Linked DNA regions of Homo sapiens: regions 1 and 3 are each linked to region 2. The links are contacts of gene promoters, found by promoter capture Hi-C in blood cells and fetal thymus (Javierre and others, 2016). All regions are on one chromosome and are shown on one strand. The core of a region is centred on a gene start or on the middle of the fragment in contact, and the rest is flanking DNA. Distances in the headings are between cores, read along the strand shown. Region 1 holds the start of ENTPD7 (ectonucleoside triphosphate diphosphohydrolase 7). Region 2 holds the start of DNMBP (dynamin binding protein). Region 3 overlaps SLC25A28 (solute carrier family 25 member 28).

Evidence for each region. Contacts are between HindIII fragments. The CHiCAGO score rates a contact against its expected background, and 5 or more counts as called.
Region 1: a contact is called between the fragment with the promoter of ENTPD7 here and the fragment with the promoter of DNMBP in region 2, in 1 of 17 cell types (monocytes). The highest score is 7.0, in monocytes.
Region 3: a fragment that was not itself captured here is called in contact with the fragment with the promoter of DNMBP in region 2 in 1 of 17 cell types (monocytes); the score reaches 5.7 in monocytes.

Annotation. Positions count from the first base shown.
Region 1 is chr10:99,656,491-99,661,396 of GRCh38, reverse strand. It overlaps ENTPD7 (ectonucleoside triphosphate diphosphohydrolase 7), which reads right to left and starts at 1,888. Exons shown (of 13, transcript NM_020354.5): 1 at 1,809-1,888; 2 at 1,433-1,535. The coding sequence starts at 1,440. It also overlaps a transcript of SLC25A28 not described here. RefSeq lists silencers at 1,660-1,879, 2,000-2,209. The HindIII fragment of the contact is 2,116 bases long and covers 1,001-3,116 here.
Region 2 is chr10:100,008,372-100,013,008 of GRCh38, reverse strand. DNMBP (dynamin binding protein) reads left to right here and starts at 3,062. Exons shown (of 17, transcript NM_015221.4): 1 at 3,062-3,171. RefSeq lists a silencer at 2,770-3,289. The HindIII fragment of the contact is 18,497 bases long and covers 1-4,637 here.
Region 3 is chr10:99,614,285-99,618,535 of GRCh38, reverse strand. All of the region lies in intron 1 of SLC25A28 (solute carrier family 25 member 28), which reads left to right. Among named protein-coding and RNA genes, the nearest start is that of SLC25A28, 4.0 kb to the left of the region's middle. The HindIII fragment of the contact is 1,059 bases long and covers 811-1,869 here.

The DNA.
Region 1 (4,906 bases), core at 639-3,138, 350 kb after region 2:
GCTTAAATATCGTTTTAAAATTGGATAAAACCCTCCTAATAAAGGCAAAAATCCATGCCAACAGAAGTCTAAATGTTCTTGTCATCTCTAATTTTAGAAGAAGCTCATGGTGCTTCTACTATATATATCAGAAAAGCCTTATCTGCCCTTTTTCCAAACTGCACTTTGAGTGCAATTCAAAGACTTAATCTCATGTTAGTGAAAAGATCACCAGTCTCCCTGGGCAACCTCATAACATTGGAGAATCAGAGCAACTACAGTATTCCCAACCAAGAATTCTGTCAAGAAACAGGATGGTCAGAAAATTTATTTAACTGATTTTAAAAATGTTTTACCAGATTATACAAGCACATAGTAAAAGACAAATCAGTTTAAAAGGATATATTGTATAGTGAAAAGTGATTCTTGCCCTGACCCCACAATCTCTCAGAGGCAAACATTACTACCCAGTTGCTGTGTAATTTTTTTTTTTTTTGAGATGGAGTCTTGCTCTGTTGCCCAGGCTGGAGTGTAGTAGCGCAATCTCAGCTCACTGCAACCTCCACCTCCTGGGTTCAAGCGATTCTTCTCCCTCAGCCTCCCCAGTAGCTGGGATTACAGGTGACTGCCACCACACCCGGCTAATTTTCGTATTTTTAGTAGAGACCGGGTTTCTACTTGGCCAGGCTGGTCCTGAACTCCTGACCTCAGGTGATCTGCCTGCCTTGGCCTCCCAAAGTGCTGGGATTACAGGCGTGAGCTACTGCACCTGGCCGTTGCTGTGTATCTTTCCAGGGATATTCTACGGATACACAAGCATAAATATACACCAATATATTTACAGTAATATATCTCTGTGTGTGTGTGTGTGTGTGTGTGTGTGTGTGTGTGCGTATCCATTCCCTCGGTTTTACACAAATGGTAGTCCACCATACCTGCTGTTCTGCATCTTTCCCCCACTTTATTTTATAACTTTCCCTTATTGGTGCATGTAGATCCACATTAATATTTTTTAAAAGCTTCAGGTTATTATAATGTATGGATAAGTGTATTCATCTGTGAAGTTCACTTTGTATATTGATTCAAAAGGACCTCGGTCTGTCTGCTTTTAAAGTTCACTGCAAACAAAAAACAAAAAAACTTCTTTGTTTAACCTCCTCAAGTGGCACCTAGCCTTGCTCAGATGCGAATCTGAATCAATGTTACAACCTTGCACTTTACAGAGCTGAGCAAGCCGACTCACTCTACCACTCCTGGTCTATGGGCTAGAAACTATTATTTATCAGCCCTCGAAATAATACAACTTTGATCGTCTCTGCATCCAACTAACCAGAATACAAAGTCCAAGTGCAGCTCCAGGGCAAACCTCACTTGGGACAGCCTCCCAGGGCCCCCCAACCTGCCTGCCATCCTCTGCCGTGCTCCCAGCCGGAGGGAAAGTGTGCAGCCTTACCTAGCCATGGGTTCCCTTCGGTGGTCTCAACGCCTGTCACCTTCTTTTTCTTTTGCCCTGAGAAGGTGGCCTCCTTGTCCCAGGCATCTCCTACGTCTGCAGCCTAGAAAGATTTGATTTCAGGCTTCTGTCCGACTGAGCCCACGAGACAAACCTGCACGGGAATTCCACGGCTCCCACCTCCTCCCCAGGCTCCCGCTCCGTCTGCTCTGGTTCCTCAGGCCCAGGGGACCCTACCCGGGCATCCTGGGAGCGGGGCGTTCTCGTGGGCCAGCTCTGTCCTCTAGGAACCGGTCGTCCCCAGGTGGCGGGGTGTGGGTCCCGCTTCCTCTCCCCGTCCCTCCGGGTCCCACAGCCCTCTCGCGCCCACACTCACGGGATCAAGCGGCCCGCCGGTTCCTTCGGCACCTCTCGGTTCAGTCCCGAGCTGCTCCCCGCGGCCCCTTGCCCAGCCGGAAGGAGGGCCCGGCCGGCGGCGGCGCCACGTCCCCAAGGAAACCGCAGGGAGCCAATGACTGACAGAAGACTCACGGAGGGGCCGGCTCTCCACGAGCCGAACCGGGGGCGAACCAGCTCGGTCAGCAGCACGTCCGTCCGCCAGGGTGGCCAATCCCCTAGAGCGCTCGGCCTCTGATGCCCGCCCCGGGACTTTGAGCCGCGCCCAATCGGAAAGGCGTCGTACCGAGGCTCCGCCTGCAGGGCCCGCGGAGAGCTCACAGGTGAGTGGCGCTGGGCGGCCCTGTGCCCGCTTCCCTCCCTGGGGCGCGAACTCTCGGCTGGTTGCTTTCTCCACGGCCGCTCCTGGGACAGAGTAGCTCCGGTAGGTGGGTTCAGGGTGTTCGCGACCGAAGCGCATCCCTTGCCCATAACCTATTGTTGGTTTTGTGCCCACTGACCCTCCCTACCAGAATGGCAGTTCTCTCACCTTAAACCTTCCCTATCACCTCCCAAACTGATGCCCCGACCTCACTGTCTTGCCCCGTGAGAAAACAGAAATCGAAGACAATGACGTTTACACCAAAGTGCTTATGTCCATTCATTCATTCATTGAATGTCTGCTTATGCCAGTCATCATGAATTTCTGTGTCGCCGCCCTCCTTGACCTTACAGTAACACAAAGGAAACGACGCGCGCGCGTGGGTGTGTGTGTGTTTCTTTCTTGCTTACACCAGCCGTTATCTCATTTCCAGGAGGACGGCATAAAGTCCAAGCTCTTTCCAACGTGGCACATCCATTGCGCCCCACGATCCGCCCTACCGCCGTCCTCTGCCGCTACTTGCCTTCCTTACCACGCTCCAGCAACGCGTCCTGTTTTGCTCATTCTGCCCCTCCACCTGCCTTGAATAACCGTCCCAGCCTCTTAGCCAAATCACCTCCTACTCATCCCTTACCACCCATCTTAAGGGTCGCCTTCCCCTAAAAGCCCTACTTGACCTACTACACCTTTTTTATACATGCCTATTGTTTCACTTAGCACGTTGAATTACTATTATACGTATATGTCTGTCTGTCTGTCCCACTAGACAGAATATCCTTGAAGGCAGGGACTATTTGCTTCCACATATTCCCAATACTGGCCACTGCCTGGCAGATAAAACACAACTAATGTATAATTAATAAGCAAATGAATGAATGGGGGGGATCGGGGAGGAAGACCACCCAAATGCTTTATTTATTCAAAGCTTACTATGACAAGGGAGTCAGTCACCATCACTTGCATTTGGCCGACTCAAAGCCTGTCAGGACATTAGGAAAACTACTTACTTACTTAATTACCTACAGGGTCTCACTCTGTTGTCATCCAGGCTGGAGTGCAGTGGTGCGATCGTGGTTCACTGCAGCCTCGACCTCCTGAGCAAGCGATCCTCCCACCTCAACCTCCTGAGTAGCTGGCTCTACAGGCACGTGCCACCATGCCCAGCTTATTTTTTTTTAATTCTTTGTAGAGATGGAGTCTCACTATGTTGTCCAGGCTGGTCTTGAACTCCTGGGCTCAAGCAGTCTTCCTGTCTCAGCCTCCCAAAGTGCTGGGATTACAGGGATGAGCAGCTGCACCTGGCCAGGAAAGCTTAGTAGTGAACAAAAAGGGAAGGTTTCATGTATACTCTGACTTGAGGGTATTAGCATGGGAAAGCTGGAGGTGGGCTAACAAAAGTAGTGTCTCTTAGGTGATTGGTTTGGGGTAGGTAGCATATTTGGCTGTCTTTAGTGGGTTCTGAGTTGAAGAAAGGAGGCGGCAAAAAACAGGGAAACTGAGTCATTGACCAAGTCCTGATTATTCTCGGCTGGTTGCTGTAGAGGTTGTGGGTCAGAGTTCTAATTGTCATATAAGATCTAGCCATTGTCCAGTTTCTATATTCAGTTCTCATGACTATTGTTTTTTTGGCTCCACTACTCTCCTAACCTTGTTGAACTTCCTAATTTGCCTTTCTTCTTCAATTCTCAGTTCTCAGTTTTTTTTTCTCTGTCCCTCAATCCCCACTCTGCTTCAAGTGTTATATTTTATCTGGACCCCCAGAAACCACATTGAATAGAATAGTTGCATAAAGTTGGGATTAACCACAACATTATACAGATACCAGTTATTTTTATTATTTCAGAACCCAGTTCAGTTCCTAGAACAAAATAGATATGGAAAGAACTAAAATAATGTTTTGGAGTAATTTTTAAAAATTTCTTGAATTTACCTTCTGTGAGTTCTAAGTCTAATCTCTATACATATATATTTCAAACTTTAGTGTTCCACAAAATAGGTGTTTTTGAGTGGAAGTATAATTCCTATTTTTAAAATAGTACTTAATTCCTATGGTTTATGAACTATATTAACTTATAATTCAAAAGTTCATTGAAACATCCTCTAATTTACATTTCATAACTACATCATAAAACAGAAAAGACCTACATTTTAATCCCAACATTTTTTCATTATATTTTCTTTGTAAAACTTTCTTTGTCAGTCTGGTTTGGACAATACTTCCTTCAATAAATCCATATGCCCTCAAGCATTTGTCAAGCATAATTCTTTACAAAAACCAGCAATGCTTATCTGGTTAACAGCTCATAGGGCTGAGTTCCGAGGTTTCCAGTCAGCAGGGCAAATTAAAAAGCACTGAGAGTATTTCTCTATTTCATTTGCTGTAACTCAACATGTTGCAACAAGTTATAGAAACCTATGTTTCAAAACAGGTTTTTAACTGCTCTTTAAAGGCTTGCCTTACAATTACATTTGCAATTTTTCTCCAGATGTGCTTGATGCCCAGCCCTGAGCAAAATCAGCCCAACAGGTCCCATATTAGGTGCTAGTTGTTTGCTTTGCTTCATTTCCCCTTGTGGATTCTCCTTCCCTCCACACTCCATCCCACCCTACCCTCTAAAGGAATTTGGAGGAGTGTCATGTGGTCTACACTCTCCCTTCCAAGTTTACCCATCTCTCTTCACCTGTCTTTCAGGCACCCCATTGTCCCAAATAAACTC
Region 2 (4,637 bases), core at 1,813-4,312:
TAGCCCTTTGCCAAAAAGACCCCCTTCTTGCCTAGGGACCAGTCTGCCTTTGCAGGACTAACAAATTAGCTACAAGATTAGAAATTACAGTTTAAGGCCGGGAGTGGTGGCTCACACCTGTAATCCCAGAACTTTGGGAGACTGAGGTGGATGGATCACTTGAGGCCAGGAGTTTGAGACCAGCCTGGCCAACAATGTGAAACCTCATCTCTACTAAAAATACAAAAATTAGCTGGACGTGGTGGTGCATGCTTGTAATTTCAGCTACTAGGGAGGCTGAGGCACGAGAATCGCTTCAACTCGGGAGGTGGAGGTTGCAGTGAGCTGAGATTGCACCCCTGCACTCCAGCCTGGGCGGTAGACTAAGACTCCGTCTCAAAAAAAAAAAAAAAAAAAAAAATTACAGTTTAGGGGTCATGCAGCCTCTGACTCCAAGAGCCTGAACCTCCCAAATTGCTCCTGGAATAACATCACTATTTCAAAACCTAAGATCAGTATTTGAGATATTTTGCAGACCCTGCAGTTGATGGATCTGCTGACACCATCCAGACCGGTAATCTGGCTCAACCAGTTCTGCATTGCACCCAGGAGCAGAAAACAGCAAGAAAACCTCATTTTGACCCCCTATGTTTCCATCTCCAACCTGACCAATCAGCACTCCCCACTTCTCAAGACCCCACCAGCCAAATTATCTTTAAAAACTCCACAAGGTCAGGAGATGGAGACAATCCTGGCTAACACGGTGATAGTCCGTTTCTACTACAAAAATACAAAAAAAAAATTAGCCAGGCGTGGTGGCGGGCGCCTGCAGTACCAGCTACTCGGGAGGCTGAGGCAGGAGAATGGCGGGAACCCAGAAGGCGGAGCTTGCAATGAGCCGAGATCACGCCGCTGCACTCAAGCCTGGGAGACGGAGCGAGACTCCGTCTCAAAAAAACAAACAAACAAAAAACTCCGATCCCCAGGCTGGGCGCAGTGGTTCATGCCTGTAATCCCAGTACTTTGGGAGGCCGAGGAGGGTGGATCACCTGAGGTCAGGAGTTCAAGCCCAGCCTGACCAACGTGGCGAAAAAAATAAATAAAACGAAATGCTTGATTTTTCATCTGAATTTCATATGGCATACTTGACTCCAAACAACTTTAGAAAGCTACATCCACAGAAAACAAAATTGTAGGAAACTGAATAATAAGTTATTTTTATTTTGGCTAATAACATTATCCAAAAATAAAGACAATAGATTTGCAATGTTAATTACTTTCTTGAGGAAAGAAAAGTCACTTGTTTTAAAATATTTATTTATTTATTTATTTATTTATTTATTTGAGACGGAGTCTCGCTGTGTCACCACGCTGGAGTGCAGTGGCGCGATCTCAGCTCACTGCAACCTCTACCTCCCGGGTTCAAGCGATTCTCCTGCCTCAGCCTCCCGAGTAGCTGGGACTACAGGCACCCACCACCATGACCAGCTAATTTTTTATTTTTAGTAGAGACAGGGTTTCACCATGTTGACCAGGATGGTCTCGTTCTCTTGACCTCGTGATCCGCCGAAAAGTCACAGTTTTACAGGCAAATGAAGCATTGCTAAGAATTTTAAAGACTCTCCGAACGTTGATATTTTACTACAAAATGTTCTCTTTACAGTGTTAACATGCTTCAAAAAGCAAAGGAAAAAAAAACAGTATGGTGGCTTCTCAAAAAATTAAACACAGAATTACCACATGATCCAGCAATTCTTCTGGATATATACCCAAAAGAATTGAAAGTAGGGACTCAGATATTTGTACACCCATGTTCATTGCAGCATTATTCACCATAGCCTAAAGGTACAAACAACCCAAATGTCCACAGAAAGATGGGATAAACCAAAGATGTTATATACGTACAATTGAGTATTATTCAGCCTTCAAAAGGAAGGATATTCTAACGCATGCTACAACATGGGTGAGCCTTGAAGACATTATGCTAGGTGAAAGAAGCCACTCACAAAAGGACAATATTGTATGATCCCACTTATATGAGGTATCCAGAGTAATCATAGAGACAGAAAGTAGAATGATGGTTACCAGGGGCTGGAGAATGAGGAGTTAGTGTTTAATGGGTACAGTTTCAGTTTGGGAAGATGAAAAAGTTCTGGAGCTGGATGGTGGTGATGGTTGCAGAACAATGTCAATGTACTTAATGCCACTGAACTGTACACTTAAAAAGGATTAAAATGGTAAATTTCATGTGATATATATTTAACCACAAGTTTTTAAAAAGCAAAGGGAAGGAGAAACATATACAGCATGGGATGAGATTTGTGAAATATTTATTTTTGTTGTGCATGCACAGTCATAGACTCGCCGCCTTCTTCAGAATCCTCTAGGTAGATTCCAGAAACGTGAGGCGCAGCAATTCCAGCAACATAGCCAAGCTGTGTAACTTCGTGGTCTTTAAACAAACAACGGGAATACTGCGGGGATTCAGAAACTGAGTCGGAGGAGGAGTTCTGACAGCCCTGCCCAGTTCTTGCTTCTGTCATTTCTTGCTCTCAAATTCTCAAAGATGTCCTGAGAGACTTTCCTCAGAAAAAAATGGGACAGATAGAGGCGAACCCCAGCGAGTATTGTGTGGCATAATAAGGGAAACTGCCTCGGGGTAGCAAAGAGGACAGCATCACACGCAGACAGGAATCGACTTGGACTTCTCTGAATGGAATTTTGACTTTTTTCTAGGTTGGAGGGTGGTGTCGGGAGTGGGGGAACAGCAAGAGTGGAGGAACTTGTCCGCAGCCGGGGCTGCACGTAGGACTGCGTGAGGCCGAGGCCCGACGAGCCGTGTCGGCGCGCTGCGGCGGGGGCGGGCCCCCGTGCCTCAGTTTCCCCGGTGGCCGTTCTGGGAGCGACGCCCCTCTGACGTCGCGAGGCGAGCAGGGCCGGGCCGGCCGCCAGGGGGCGCGAGCGCGGGGCGGGCGCCGGAGAGGTGGGCGCGCGGGCAGCGGAGCTTGGCGCCCCCGGGGCCGCGCGGACCGCGCCGGCAGAGGCGGAAGCCTGAGCGGGAGGCGGGGCGGCGCGCTGACTCACACGGGATCGACCCGCCCGCCGCTTCCAGGGGCGGAGGTGACAGCGGGCTGGGGACTGGCGGCTGCAACTGCCTGCCGCGCCGAGGGACCGCCGGGCGGCGGAAAGCAGGTCAGAGGCCGGGCCAGGCCGGAGCCGGGCGGGGGCCGGGCGGGGAGCGGGGGTCGCGGTCCGGGGCCGCGGGCGGAGGGGACCCGCACCCCGAGAGACGCGCCGCGCCGCGCCGCGCGGCTAGGCCTGTATCGGCCCTTTCCCAGCGGCGGCGCTGTGCTGCGCTCTGTGGGCCAGGAGCCCGCGAGGGACAGTGGGGCGCAGCGGGCCCCCTCGCACTCCTGTAGTCCCCGGGAGTTGGAGGGGTGGTCAGAGCAATGCGAACGTGGGCTTTTCAAGCGGTGTCAAGCCCAGGGCTCTTTCTCTGCACCGCCCTGCCACTCCGGCAATGAGGCGGAATTTTGAGAGCTGGAAAAAGAATTCTGCGTTAGTCCACCCCGCTGATTTTACAGATGTTCGGAGCCTTACGGCATAGGAGGCCGTGATTCTGTGTCAGGGAGACAGGGACAGATGGCTTCCGAAGCAAGGGTTAGACCTGTTCAGCTGGAGATGCAGCTTTGGTCATGGTGGAGTTTTGCAGAAACCCGCGGACACCCGCGTTCCTGCTGCAGGCACAGATGTCCACCGGGCATCTGTGTCTCAAAGGGTGGTGATGCTGTCACTTTAGTAAAGGAATATTGAGGTTACCAAACAGGCCGGGGCCTGATGCAGATGAGGAGTATAGACTTAAATTTTAAGTGCAAAAACAACTTTAAATGCAGTCTCATTATTACTGCCTGTCTCATTTGTACTGTAATGAAGGGTGAATATTTTTGGCACTCACTTATTCTGGAATATGGGTAACTTGCCTTTAGGTCTGTTTTATAGTAATTCTTTTACACAAACATGAAGATCTTGTATTAAAACACTTTCATAACTAATGATGCTGTAGTATGTGGCAGGCGAGTGGTAACGCTAATATTTAGGGTTTGAGCATAGTCTAGCTCTGCTTGTTTACATAGCTGAGTTAAACGGATGAGCAGGACTGATTAATCTGTAGTAGTTTTTGCAAGACTGAAGTACCTGACAGCATTCGGGGATCATTTCTCAGTTGGTGTTCCGTTTATTACTTTCACAGCATGAATACCGACACGGTGATCAGCAAGTTAGTTTATCCTCTACCCATTTTTCTCTAAAATATTGAATTAAAGGATCTCTAAGGTCCTCTTCTGTCTCGAGTTCTCCGATTTTACATGTTAACTTGAAACACGTCACTCATTGTGATAATAAAAATGTTTTAAGAAGAAAAGATTTTTAGAATTCTGCATAATGGGGCATAGCGAATCTTCAAATTCATTATTCTCAGCTCTCTCAGTCACTTTATCAGGGTTGGGCTAAAATAAGTGAAAAGTGACTTTTCAAATTGCAGATACTTACGTGTTAAATTCACTTAAATTCAGAGGCTGCAATGGAGTGATTTCTGGAGGGTGGAGAGTAGCTCAAGTCTGGCTTGGGAACGGGGTTCGTGCAGTGCACTGATAACTTTT
Region 3 (4,251 bases), core at 91-2,590, 390 kb after region 2:
ATATGTATAGACTCTAGGTTGAATGACTTGTGAGTTAATAATGCCGTATATCCAAAAGTTAATATAATCTAGCTGCAGAGTAACCTCCCTAGACTTAGACTGTGAGTAGAGTGCAGGGTTTAGGATGCTGTTTTTCTGGATGAGTATTGAATGGAAAACAGATCAATGAAAACAGTGAAAATTATGTAATGGCTTGAAAAATACAGTGTAATAATTTGTCTTAGAAATATTACTGTAACTTATCAATTTAACCACTGTTCCATTATAACAGAACGGGAGGTTATCTCCTTACTCCATATATTTACATAGTGCTATTGTTGCTATAAACATTTTATAAATCCCTGTTAAAAATGCTTCTAGAATATTTGGGTGCATGTCCTTAAGGGAGGCAAATCTTTGCCCTGTGACAAGATGGAATTGATTTTGCAAGAACAAAGACTATTCAGAATCAAATATGGTGAATAAAGTGGGAGGTCAAAATGGGTAATACTGCTTGGCATCAAAATAAGGTGGGACTGGAAAGCAAGGAGACTGCTTTACTTCTGAGGCCTATAAACCCGTTGAGGAAACACCTCTGAAAGAGAAGTTCCAGAAAGGTTTTGCATAACCACAGCTTTGCTGGAATAAGTCAATTGTAGCCTTCCAAGGTAACTATTTTGAAGAACAGTTCTTACTCATTTACATAAACTTTGGAATTTTTGTTTTTTAAAAATTAGTCATACAACATAGCAGTTATGCCTGAAAGCCCTCTATTAAGGAAATAATGATTTGAGAAAAAAATGCTCAGGAGTTGTCAACAATACGAAAGCTTATTTTAGAAGGCTCATTTTCACTTGCACTTAATGCTGGGATTTAAATGACTTAGAGGGAAGAACTAGGTGAGGCCAGTATGATTTAGTGTCAGTGAGTATGTTAAACACTTTTGTGCAGGCATGAAAGTAAAATTCAAATCTCTTCCTTCAGAAAAGACTTCCCAGTTTGCTTGTCCCCAGCAGCTATCCTTCTTCTTTTAATAAGTGGATGAGTGGGGAGGAAAAGCAGCCCAGTCTTTAAGACTGGAGGCAGATATCCATGTTGTTGGAGCCTAAAGGGCAACCACAATGTTTGCAAATGAAAGCTGACATTGCCTTTTGACATGCAGGCCTGTCCATCCTCAGCTACTTATCAGGGTCAAGTTGACTTTAAATATCCTTGAGAGGGACCATGAGAAGTCAGTGTAGCCTTGCTGGATCATGGTTATTCAACCAGCTATTTCCATGGCTATAATGGAGAGGCTTGGGAGCCCAGATAAATCCCAGTTTCCTTTTCTGGGCCTCAAAGGCAAGCGCCAGACTTTATCTATGGGGACATTCTGCAACCCAAAACAGTCAGAACCCTTCTCAAAATCCTCTGGCGAAGTACCCACCTATCATCAAGCTGCTGTTGTTGGCTCTGAAGTGGTAAAGCAAATATCCACTTATATAATAAAGAGGGGAAGAGCAGAGGGAGATAAATCTCCAATTTCCAGATGTAAATGGTATCTATACATATTCACCTGTGAAAGATTAGGAAATGGAAACATTAGCTTATTTGATTTTCTTGCATCTAGTAATAAGTATTCAGTGATCTTGTGTGCCAAGCACTATCTGAAGTACCTTACATACATTTATTCATTTAATCTGTGAAGCAACTTCATGAAGTAGAAACCATTTTCATTATTTTACAGTTGAAAGGAGGCTTAGGGAAGTTATATAACTTGTCCAAGGTCACACAGTTTAAGTAGCACAGTTATGATTTGAACTCAGTGTATCAGACTCTCAAGCCTTCCATATAGCTTCCCAAAAGCAGATTACAAGAACCAGGCAAGGCACAGAATTTCACAGTAAAGCTTGTCCCTGAACATATGACCTTCAGATTAATAGTGGGACATGTAAATCATTATAGCCACAGAGAAACTTTAAAAGGAAAACAAAAAATACAAAATTAACCCTGATTTATTGGTGGCTAAGGACAGTTAGTTGCCCATGTATATTTGTGAAATGACTTATACAGGAGGCAATGCTACCATGATCTGTAAATTCTTAGATATGAACAAATATAGAATCATTTTGAATACAATAAAAATCTTTGTATTTCTAGCATCTTATAAATTACCAATGGCTTTTACATATCTTATCTCTTTTAATCCCCACAACAGCCCTGTGAGCCAGTCATTCTTGGCCTCATGTTATAGATGACAATTTTGAAGCTTAAAGAGGTTAAGTGACATACCCAAGATCACACAACTAGCAAAGCTGAGGCTCAGACTCAGGCTTTTTGACTCAAATGTGGCTTGTCTTTTACCAAACCACTTACCTCTCTACTGGGTTGTTTGGCTTTTCTCCAAAGCCAGGTAGAAGTTTTTCACATTGAGGTTTTTCAGAAATTCTTACTTAGATATTTCATCTTTCTGTAAAAGGCAGATTTATTGGCCCACAAATTTGGGGAGCCATATTCATTTTTATATTTGGCATAGCTTATGCCCAGGTCCTCTCCATAAGGGTGTACTTTTATCGAGTTAGAATTGTTGAGTTAGATTTAGATGTGTATATAGAATGTTCAAAGTAGCTTCCCACAGTCCGGTTTTCTCTTGGGGGTGAGGAGTTCCAGGCCTCCGAAGCCAAACCGTTCAGAATTGGTAGCCAAATACACCATTGACTGCAGCAGAGCAATGCAATTGCTGAACATTCCCCTTATACAAGATCAGTTTTGAATAAATGCATGGAAACACGATAAGCTAAGAGGCTCAATTTATCTTTGCTTATTAGTAGCTCTAGCCAGCATATGACCCGTAGTCTCTATGAACAACTCTTCTGATGGATTTTATATGCCTTGTGTGATGTGAAAGATGAGTAAACAAACCCTTTATTGGAAATACATGAGGTTTTGTGGGGGGAAGTAGGAAAGAATGTGTCAAATTGTGATAAGTGATACTGTGTAGAGTATTTCTGATTGAACATCCAGTAACTAACCTTTTAAGCTTCCGGTTTTTTGTTGGTAGCAGGCAGGAGAAAATAACCAGAGGAATGTGGATTGCTTGCAGCTAACCGGGACCTGTTCATCTGGTTAGTTTCTTTTCTCCCATGCTCTTGAGGAAAGGTATTACTCTTGGATTCCAGTTGGCCAAGAGGAAGGTTCAAGCTTTTTTTTTTTTTTTTTTTGAGATGGAGTTTTGCTCTTGTTGCCCAGGCTGCCGTGCAGTGGCTCAAACCAGCGAAGGCTCACTACAACCTCCGCCTCACAGGTTCAAGCGATTCTCCTGCCTCCTGAGTAGCTGGGATTACAGGTGCACACCACCATGCCCGGCTAATTTTTTTGTATTTTTAATAGAGACGGGGTTTCACCATGTTGGCTAGGCTGGTCTCGAACTCCTGACCTCAGGTGATCTGCTCGCCTTGGCCTCTCAAAGTGCTGGGATTACAGACGTGAGCCACCGTGCCTGGCCGAAGGTTCAAGCTTTTAAATCCAAATAGAATCTAGTGATTAGATTGATGCAGAAATTTAAACTGTACTTGGGCATCACTTGCTTCCATTGGCTCACCAGTGATTGTAGCTGATACAGTTATGTGACAAAAGATTCATTCATTTAGCAAACAAATCAGAGGTGCTTATTGTGTGTCAGGCACCAGACATTGATTTTTCTTTTTAGACATTGATTTTATATTAACTATTAGTTTCCATGTTACTTTACCTTGAATTGGGTCAGTAGATGAGAAATTTTCCTGGGGAGACACACTCTTCAGAAAAGGTCTAATTTAGGGAGGTGTTTTGAATAAGATTAATTTCCCAAATTTCAACAAAACTTTGTCCAAGAACATCATACAAAGTGTCTACCCTACGCTTTTATTCCAATCATCAAATCCTTTAGAGAGATTCCAAGGATTATGTTTCACTGAGACTGATTTTATTTGCTAATGCCAATTTTGGGATTCAATCAGTTTAAATTAGAAATCTGGAAGGGCCCTTCAGGATTGGAGACTAGATTGGTTTCTAGCTAGACACTCCCACCTTTGCAGTTTCAGGGTAAACTTTCTTTCCCAAGAAATAAAAGCATGTATTAAGAATGCTGCTTCTGCCAAGACTCTGTGTAGACCCAGCCACCATTGCCAGATAGTCTGAAAAAGTATAAAAAAATTAGCCGCCCCTCAGTGTGTGGTCATGAAGCAGGGCCAGGGGCACTCTTTAGGTATACAGCATAAAGTATGTCATAGATAGTAAATACTGGAGTTTAGA